Linked DNA regions of Homo sapiens: region 2 is linked to region 1. Evidence: promoter capture Hi-C in 16 types of primary human blood cells and fetal thymus (Javierre and others, 2016). All regions are on one chromosome and are shown on one strand. The core of a region is centred on a gene start or on the middle of the fragment in contact, and the rest is flanking DNA. Distances in the headings are between cores, read along the strand shown.

Region 1 (4,649 bases), core at 2,074-4,573:
TGGGTTAGTTATTGAGGGAGTGGTTAGTTATTGTGAGAGTGGGTTTGTTATAAAAGTGAGTTTGGGCTTCTCTTGCTCTCTGGCTCTTGCCCTGTCACCTTCCACCACGGGATGGCACAGCAAAAAAATGCCCTTGCTGGATGTTGGCCCCTTGATATTTAACTTCCCAGCCTCCAGAGGTGTGAGCCAAATAAATTTCTGTTCATCATAAATTACACAGTCTGTAGCATTCTGTTATAGCAGCACAAAACAAACAAAGCAGAGGAGAAAGCATTGTGTTTATTACATGTTGACACTCCAAACAATATAATAGATTAAGCACTCATCACATCTTTTCCAACTTACACAAAAGCAATGACAAGAAAAATTAGAAAATTTAAAACAGAATATCTCATCACAGCACAATTTCTTTAAAATAATAAAAAGTGAAAATGAGACTACAACCAGAATAAGTTTCCAAGTGGCTTATTTGTTATGCAAGCAAGGCAAAATATTTTATTGATGTTAAGTTCATTAAATCATGTTTGATTATAGCAGCAGATGAAATATATCCAGTGAAAATAAATTAGTTTAAGACTTTTAGCCTTTTGGTGACACTGGTTGCTTGGTTGAGAACATTGACAGAAGCATCAATAGTGAATTTTAAAATGACTTCTAGTGGTTTTCCTTAGTTCTTGTTGACAAATATTACCAATACAGCTCAGTTGTTGTTTATTTGAGAAGTCAATGCTGAGTTCGAAGTGAATGAAGAAATAGCTTCTATGAAGAGCCTGTGTAGAAGAACTATAGGCAAGATTACTTTAAAAGAAAATGAGAAAACACTAATTCAACACAACCTGAAGTGGAATCTGCTAAGATGTGTTGCTAGTGTTCATGGTAAAAAAAATATCTGTGGAGCAGAAGAAGGCTTTTGGAGCAAATTTAGAAGGTGGGTGAAAATATAAGATATTTAAAGCTTATGATTATTAATTGTAATATTCACCATCAGGTACTTTGTGGAAAATATCTAAATCTGTGATGTTATTGAATCAGTGGTATCAAAGGTTAATTTTATTAGCTTTTCTGGACTTTTAACCATTGCCCATTTGGTAAACATTTTTTTCAGAAATAGAAAGTAAATATCCTGTCAGATCAGCATTAACATATGAATATTTGAATCAATTTCGATAAGGCACATTAACTTTGAACTCCAATAAGGTGAAATGTGATATCATTCCCAAAATGTATTTTTTTTTGCCTTACTAAGCTAGTATTACAAAAAATACTCATTCACATGATATTTTGAATTTTATTAATAAAAAAAATTTAGAACCTTTTTTCTTTCTTTACATAAGTACCTGCATCCTACATATATACTTGATTTTGCTTTCTGGACTGCAAAGACTAAAATACTATCTGTGACTTTACAGAAAATGTTTGGCATCCTCTATTGTATAGTCCCAATTTATAACATTGTTGTGATAGCTAGTTTTGTGAGTCAACTTGGCAAGGCTATGGCCCAGTTATTCAATCAAATACCAATCTTCACAATCTTCACAGGGGTTGCTGTGAAGTACTTTGTAGATGTGATTAACATCTACCATACATTGAATTTAATTAAGGGAGATTATCCTCAATACATTTGGTTGGTGTGATCCAATTAGTTGACAAACCTTATGAATAGAACTGAGGTTCCTTGAAAAAGAAGAAATTCCTCCTGAGGACATCTGCCTGTGAGTTTCCAAACTGCTCTTCCTGACAGCCCCACAATCGCATTAGCCAATCCCCAATCTCTCTCTGTCTCTCATATACATATATATGTATGTGTATATATATATATATATATATGCATATATGTATGTGTATATATATATGCATATATGTATGTGTATATATATGCATATATGTATGTGTATATATATGCATATATGTATGTATGTATGTGTATATATATATGCATATATGTATGTATGTATATATATGTATGCATATATATAAAATCTCCTACTCTGGTCATCTGGTGGAACCCTAATACCACTGCTGACTGTATAAGACATTATTACCTAATTTGTGCTGCTAGAAAACAGAAAAGAAAATAACTGCAGATAAAACAAAATCAATAATTTTTTGTTGCTCCAGTTCAGCTGTGATATTGCCTAATCTATCTTAATGACTCTCCAGTGTAAGGCAGAAAGGGGTAGTGAGAGTCATGAATAAAGAAAGAAAACTCAGCAAAACTTAAATTCAGCCTTATCACTGTGGATCAGACTTTTTTTTTTTTTTTTTGGACAGAATCTGTTCTCAGAGCAAAAATGAGATTTTTCGAGGAAATGTCTCCATTAGCCTAACTCTAGGGCTCTTTTCCTGGGTCCCACTGTTGCTGGCTGTGACAGCACCCTTCACCTTGCAGTGATGTTGGTAAATAGTGTATTTACGTATTTTCAGAGTAGAGCTTCTAGAGCTTACATCAGATTTTCCAACGGGTTTGTAGCACCAAAACGATAAAAAGCTGTAAATGGGCCAGGCACGGTGGCTCACACCTGTAATCCCAGCACTTTGGGAGGCTGAGGCTGGCGGATCACCTGAGGTGGGGAGTTCGAGACCAGCATGACCAACATGGAGAAACCACGTTTCTACTGAAAATGCAAAGTTAGCCGGGCATGCTGGTGCATGCCTGTAATCCCAGCTACTGGGAAGGCTGAGACAGGAGAGTCGCTTGAACTCGGGAGGCGGAGGTCGCGGTGAGCCGCGATCGCGTCGTTGCACTCCAGCCTGGGCAGCAAGAGAGAAACTCGAAACTCCGTCTCACAAAAAAAAAAAAAAAAGGCTGTAAAGGATCCACCTCCAGGTAAACATTTACTCTTCCATGTCACCTGCTGTGTACATTGTCTCTCTAACCCTCACAATAATCATATGAAGTAGGTATTAGTATCCCATTTCACAGATGAGAAAACTGAAGCTTAGAAAAATGAAGTCATTTGTCCCCGTCTGGATTCGAACCGAGATCTGACACCAAAGCTCATGCTGAGGGGAGTTAAGGAGGTTTGTTCAGTCCCTAGGCACGGCAATCAGGAAACTCTCTGCACTTGCGGTGGTGGTCTGGCGAGCCCCAGGTGGGGACTGGCCTCTGCTCCCTCGCCTGGGGAGGAGACAAAGTGGGAGTGGTCCCCAAGTTTTGCGTGAAGTGGGGTGGGGTGGCGTGTCTTAGCCTACGGGGCACCAGCCTTCTAGTGTGCCCCTGCCCAACGGGAGGGAGGAGGGAGCGGGGAGCCCCGGCGAGGGAGGAGAGGGCGGGCCCTGAGAGGAGTTTGAAAAGAGGAAGGAAGTGGGGCCCTGCGGCGCCCAGCCACCCCCTGACGGCTTCCCCACGGGAGGACGCGAGGCCCCGGCCCAGCCATGGCCCCCTGGCGCAAAGCTGACAAGGAGCGGCACGGCGTGGGTAGGTGCGGGCCCCAGGGCGCGGCAGGGAGCGGGACAGGTGGCGGGAGAGCCGCGAGCAGGAGGATGCTGCGGGGCCGGCGGCGCGGGGTGGGCAGGGCGCGCTGCCTGCAGGTCAGAGGGCGCAGCCTGCGGCGGGGCCTCGGGGCGGGAAAGCCGAGGCTCGGGGAGAGGACGGCGGGACCCCACCCCGCAGGCTAAGCACAGCCCTCGCCCTCTCGCCTGCTGAGGGAACCTTAGACATTTCCGAGATAGGGTCAAGACCTGCGCTTGACAACTCAGTTCTTCGCGCCAAACTCGGCGTCCCCAGGAGTGCCCCAGCTCGCCGCGTGGGAGACTTGGCCTTGTAGAGGGAGCTCCACTCTCCCCTGGCTCAGCCTTGGCCTGCCCACCATGCATACTTCCACCCCCTCCAAAGCGACACCCATTTGCCTGCTTCCCCTGTCTGTTCCTCCTGGGTCAGATGACTCCTGATTTGGCAGGGCATCCAGAGGGCAGCTCAAGCTTGGGGGAATGGGGCTGGACGGTGGGGTTCTCTACTCAGCCCCCCAGAGCCTCTGGGGAAAAAGGCTCCCGCCAGGTGGTCTTAGGGTAACCAAGAAGCTAGCTTCGTCAGCCTCAGCCATCTAAACTCCCAGAAGCCTCTGCCTGGAGCTCAGGGGCGGAAGTGGTGGCTGGGGGAAGGGAGGCCTCAGGTGCTGCTACTCTAAGTGTCATCCGTGGTGCAATCTCCATGGACTCACTGTGGTTTTTAAACTTAAATATCAAATAAAAAGTCACTCTGGAGCTTCCTACACAGGCGGATACCAGACACCATCTCAGAGATAAATATTTCGCAGGTGAGGCATTGGAAGACCCAAACACCCAGAGGGATTTGATGCAGGGGGTCCCCAGGCCACTGTTTGGGAAACACTGCCCTGGAGAGATCAGCAGTTATCCACTCAATTACTGGGTACCGGGCACTGTGGGGTCATTTTGATATAAATGGTCCCCATCCAGAGAACAAATAATAATTCATATCTCAAGGGGCAGTTACAAAGTAAGGAAGGATACAGCTTCTGCCCTTGAGGAGTTATGTGTAAGGCTAGAGGCTTGGACTGGGAAGTCAGAACTGAGTTCAAATCAGGGTCTGTTTCCTCGTCTATAAAGTGGAAGTAATAATAATGCAGGTCTCATGAGACTCTTGTGAGGATTGAATGGGGTTATGCATGGAAAGCATTTAGTAGTGTGCT
Region 2 (4,635 bases), core at 904-3,403, 650 kb before region 1:
TACTTTCAGAATTTAGAGGCAAACAAATGTAATATAAGGCTGATTATCAGTTAAGTGTTAAACTGTGAGTTACAGGAAAAATGGATACATCACAGAAAAACATCCCAAACTTTAGTGGCCTTATCAACCCAGGCTGCTTGTTAAACACCAGATTGCTGCTCTCTGCACCTCCCATTCTGAATCAGGAGGTCTAAAGTAAGACCTCTATTTCTGCACTTTCAAGCATCCAGGTGATTATAATAATAAACTTTGAGAAGTAATGATCCAGAAATATCACACATAGGAGAGAAATGCTAAGAGGAAAGCAACAAGAAACCGGTAAGGGAGTCATCTAAAATTTTCAGGCCATTTCTTAGAATGACAATTACTTGACCCCCAACTGTGTTCTCTACTAGACATGAATTCTCTAAGATCAGGGATGTTCAGAGTTCCTTCCGTGGCCACCCTGGGCTTTGCACCTTGCAGGAAGAGTTCAATTCCTGGGTGGGGAATTAAACTGAACCTAAAGATCGCTTGAACTTTTTCCACAACTAGCCCAGGAGTCAGGACCTAGTTCCTTGTACCATCTGAACTGAGCCACGAATATGCCATCTTGGCTTCCAAGGTTATCCTGCCCATTTTTCTGGACTTCCTAAGATCTTGGATCGTCATATGAGATTGGGCTTCAGCAATCTCTGAACTGCCGTGGAGCAAACCAGATGCAAAGGCTTTGCTTCCGGCAAGGGGAGTCTGTGTCCTGGTGATGACAAACCAAGGAGAAAAGCAATCATGGTGCATGGGAACAACTGAGTGGTTGACTGCTTGCCTTCCCAGCACTTCTTTCCCTGTGTTTTACTGCAACAGCCCTCATTTTTATTTGCAGGTCCACTCCTCCCTAATTTCAGTTCCTATGCATGGTGGGCGCAGCATGTGGTCTGGGCTAAGGCAATTAGCATTTCTCATTCTCTGTCCCGTGACCATGCTGTAGCCAATGGGAGCAGATGTGCTCACAGGAATGCAGGGACAAAGACTCACCTTGAACCGGGAGGCTGTGAGGTTTGCAGCTGTGGTGGCCGTCTTGCTACAGTGAGGAGAGGGCTCCTCTCTGCAAATGGAGCCAATGCAGAAAAAACAAGAGAAGGAAAGGAGGGATGATGGCGGGGGGTAGGAAGAGAGATACAGAGACAGAGTATGGTGGTTGTATTTGAACCCCTGGTTAAATCATGCCTGGGAGTGCCGCACTCCCAAGCTTTTCAGACCCATAAGTCAATCATCTCTTTTTAAACTTGGGTTTGCTTTCCCTAAAACCTTGTGACTGAAAGGCACTTCATCATGTAGTAAGGCTTTTCAAATGAAACGTCCAGCCTCACGAAGAAATGCCTTCTATAAGGGGCTGACACTGAGTCTTCTCAAAAGGCATATGCATTCAGTTTACAAAATCAGAATATGTAATATACCTCATACTTTTCAGTTCTTTCATGTCTTTTCTTACGTCTGGTTCTCCCAATTCCCTGACAGTGCTAGATGCTAAGTAGGCAAATTTCATGACGTAGGGCAAAAATCACGATCCCTATATGATAGATGATGAAATGGAGGCCAAAAGGGGAGAATTAACCCACTTGAGATCGGTCAGTTTGTGAAGGAGCCATGCACCGCACTTCCCAGTGGTGTAGATAAGGGAAAGGAAATATTTGGACGGTGGCGCCCTTCTTACATGGCCTCCATAGCCCTCCTCTCCCTTTGGGTACCATGATGCTTTTCAGCTCACATTGGTACATTGGTAGCTGCAGGGAGAGGCTTCAACATATTTATCAGCGAAAACATCAGCATCCAGGCCCCCATCTCCATTCTCAGTGTCCTCGTCCATCCCACCCCTGCACGCTCTCTCCTTTATCATAACTTGCATGACCTGGACCATCCAGGCATGCTGTGAGCATGGCCCTCCCTTCCTGTGCTAGTGGGAGTTTTCTCCACCACAAGCAGTTTTAGCACAGGCTTGGAGTCAGAAGGACGTGGGTTCACATTGTGACTCCTTTATTATGAATGTGACCATGGGTGAGTGACCACCTCTCTACTGCTTAGATTCCTCACCTATAAAATGGGGGTCATAACAACAAAGACCTTGCAGGGCCTTTGCACATTAATGAGATACATATATAAAAAGCCTTTAGTGTGGGTTTAACTCATGATATACACATTGTTTACAAAGGCTAATATTTAGCCGGGCGTGGTGGCACGCACCTTTAATCCCAGGTACTCAGGAGGCTGAGGCAGGAGAATCGCTTGAACCCGGGAGGCAGAGGTTGCAGTGAGCTGAGATCATGCCACTGCACTCCAGCCTGGGCAACAGAGCGAGATTCCATCTCAAAAAATAAAAGAAGGCTAATATTTATCAAACACGGACTTGGCCAGCTTATTAATGGTCACTAAGCTGTAGCTCTCTCTGTTGATCTGATTCCTATCCATCCTTCAACAGCTACTTCAAATCCCACCTTCCCCTTAACCTGGAATCCTGACAACTCTAGTTCTCTCTCCCTCTTTACTCTGGATTCCACTGCTTTTGATGTCAGAGTCACTCCCTGCTTTGCATTCTTCCTTTATGTTCACCAAGTTAATCTCTCCCACATATTCACAATGACCTATTTCTCCCACCCAGACTATCTATGTGGTCCTATTTTTCTATTCACGCTAATCTCTCTAGCAGTATAGCCTAGTGGTCCAGACCATGAGCTTTAGGGCCAGCCAATCCTGGTTTCAAATCCTAGCTCTTTGCTGTGTCACCTTAAAAATGTACTTAACCTCTGAGTGTCAGTTTCCTCATCTGTAAAATGGTGATGATTCCTGCCTGTCAGGGTTGTTAAGCACACTATAGGAGATACTACATGCAAACTGCTAAGCGTATTTATCACATGCACACAGTAAAGCTCTACCCTTGGTAACATAATGATAGTCTTAGCCACACAAGCATCTAGCTCACTGCCTCGTACCCTATAGGAACCGAATTGATTTAAACCCAGAGGCATTTAGTCCTCTGTGGTTACCTGTACTTTCCCACATTCCCACTCATGGCCACAAGGTGGCAGCCCACCCATTATGGAGGAAGCTTTTATTTCCAGAACGGGAAAGAACGAAATGATTTCTTATGGAATATATAGATGACTTCTTTTTCGGTGTTAGGTAGGTGGGGGGACTGAATATCCTCATAGGCCCCTGGTTCCATTTTCTGTGAGTGCACTACCTGTACACATGGGACCACTGTGTCACAGCTGAAGCAGATCAAACAAGTCAACTGCACATTAAGGTGTTCTCTTCTAGGGAATGTGGCTGGCACCTGTCTCCCCCTTTCTTTCAGCCACACTCCATCAGAAAGCCTGCGGGGTTTAGAAACCTCCCTAGGCTGGGCTTCGCCATCCTGCACCTGTATTAAGGTGTCAGGGAGTCTGGTGAATGGACCATATGTGCACCTATGGTGACCATTTTGTCTGAGACTTTCTGGGTTTTAAAACGGGAAGCCCTGTGTCCTGGAAAATCCTTCCGTGCTAGGCAAACACAGATGGTTGCTCGCTCTAGGGCATCTCTGCTACATCTCCACTGTAACTCCATAGATATGGTTTCCCTTTTTTTCCCATGGAAAAAGAAATTGTGGACATGCAATTTCCCAAAGTCCTACAATTCCATAATTTTATATTTGGAAGGGAACACAGACAACACTCAGATCCTGCATGATGGGGAGAGTAGAATGGTCTTGCCCAGGTCACATGGCTGGGCTGGCAGGGAAGGACCCAGATCCTTGAGTCTAACTCTCAGCTCTTTCCAAGGGCTCCCGACCACTTGGAGCTGCAGGGTATAGAAGGAGGGTGTGTGGCTTCCTGGACGTTCCCTCAAAAGAGCTTCTGGGAAATAGCAAAACAGGGCAGAACTCAGGAAGACTGCGAGATCTAACTTAAAGCAAACTTCCAACCAAATACTTAGGGATGCAATTAACATGCATACGTTATATAAAAGGGTGAATGGGTGGGATTTAAATTTCACCTGGATGGAAAATCTTCACGGATCTCACTTTGGCACACTGGAGGAGAATCAACTAGGAGACCCCCCCCCAGGGGCAGGCAGCACTAGAATTGAGCCTCGAAAGCCTTCCTGGGTTTTGCCTCCAGAGAAAAGAATCAGCATCTCTCTCCTGGGATCTCCTTGGCACACCACTCTCCCCATCTCAGCCAGGCCAGCATTTGTCCTCACTGTTCACTGCAGAAAGTGAAAGTTTCTGGATGTACTTTCATTAACAAATCCTGCTAAAGCAAACTCCTGCTCTCAATGTTATTGGACATTTACATCTTCAGTCTCAACCATGGCACTAAATTAATTTGCCTCAGAGACACACCACTGAATTCAAGTATTTTATTAGAAAGCTACACCAAATACAGGAGCCTTGCAGAACAGAACAGAAAGAATGCCTCTTTTGCAAAGACATGAAAAGCAGGCAAATCCATACAAGACGGAATATGGTAAGCATACATCCTTAGGAAATGATCTTTTGTTTTGTTTTCGGTTAGGAATTCCCACAAAACAAAATTCTTATTAGTAACAAAAAGTTTAAAAAGTTGGTTTCCAAAACAAACTTGACAGGGAAGGAAAGCACCTATGAGAGGAAGGAAC

What was found. The method cuts DNA at HindIII sites, captures the fragments that hold promoters and counts their contacts. A CHiCAGO score of 5 or more calls a contact.
Region 2: a contact is called between a fragment that was not itself captured here and the fragment with the promoter of DOCK2 in region 1, in 1 of 17 cell types (naive CD4 T cells). The highest score is 6.6, in naive CD4 T cells.

The regions. Positions count from the first base shown.
Region 1 is chr5:169,633,952-169,638,600 of GRCh38, forward strand. DOCK2 (dedicator of cytokinesis 2) reads left to right here and starts at 3,324. Exons shown (of 52, transcript NM_004946.3): 1 at 3,324-3,418. The coding sequence starts at 3,376. RefSeq lists silencers at 3,192-3,671, 3,702-3,761 and an enhancer at 4,022-4,121. The HindIII fragment of the contact is 983 bases long and covers 2,937-3,919 here.
Region 2 is chr5:168,984,703-168,989,337 of GRCh38, forward strand. The region is part of intron 4 of SLIT3 (slit guidance ligand 3); the gene reads right to left. Among named protein-coding and RNA genes, the nearest start is that of SLIT3-AS1, 26 kb to the right of the region's middle. RefSeq lists an enhancer at 1-124. The HindIII fragment of the contact is 1,854 bases long and covers 1,227-3,080 here.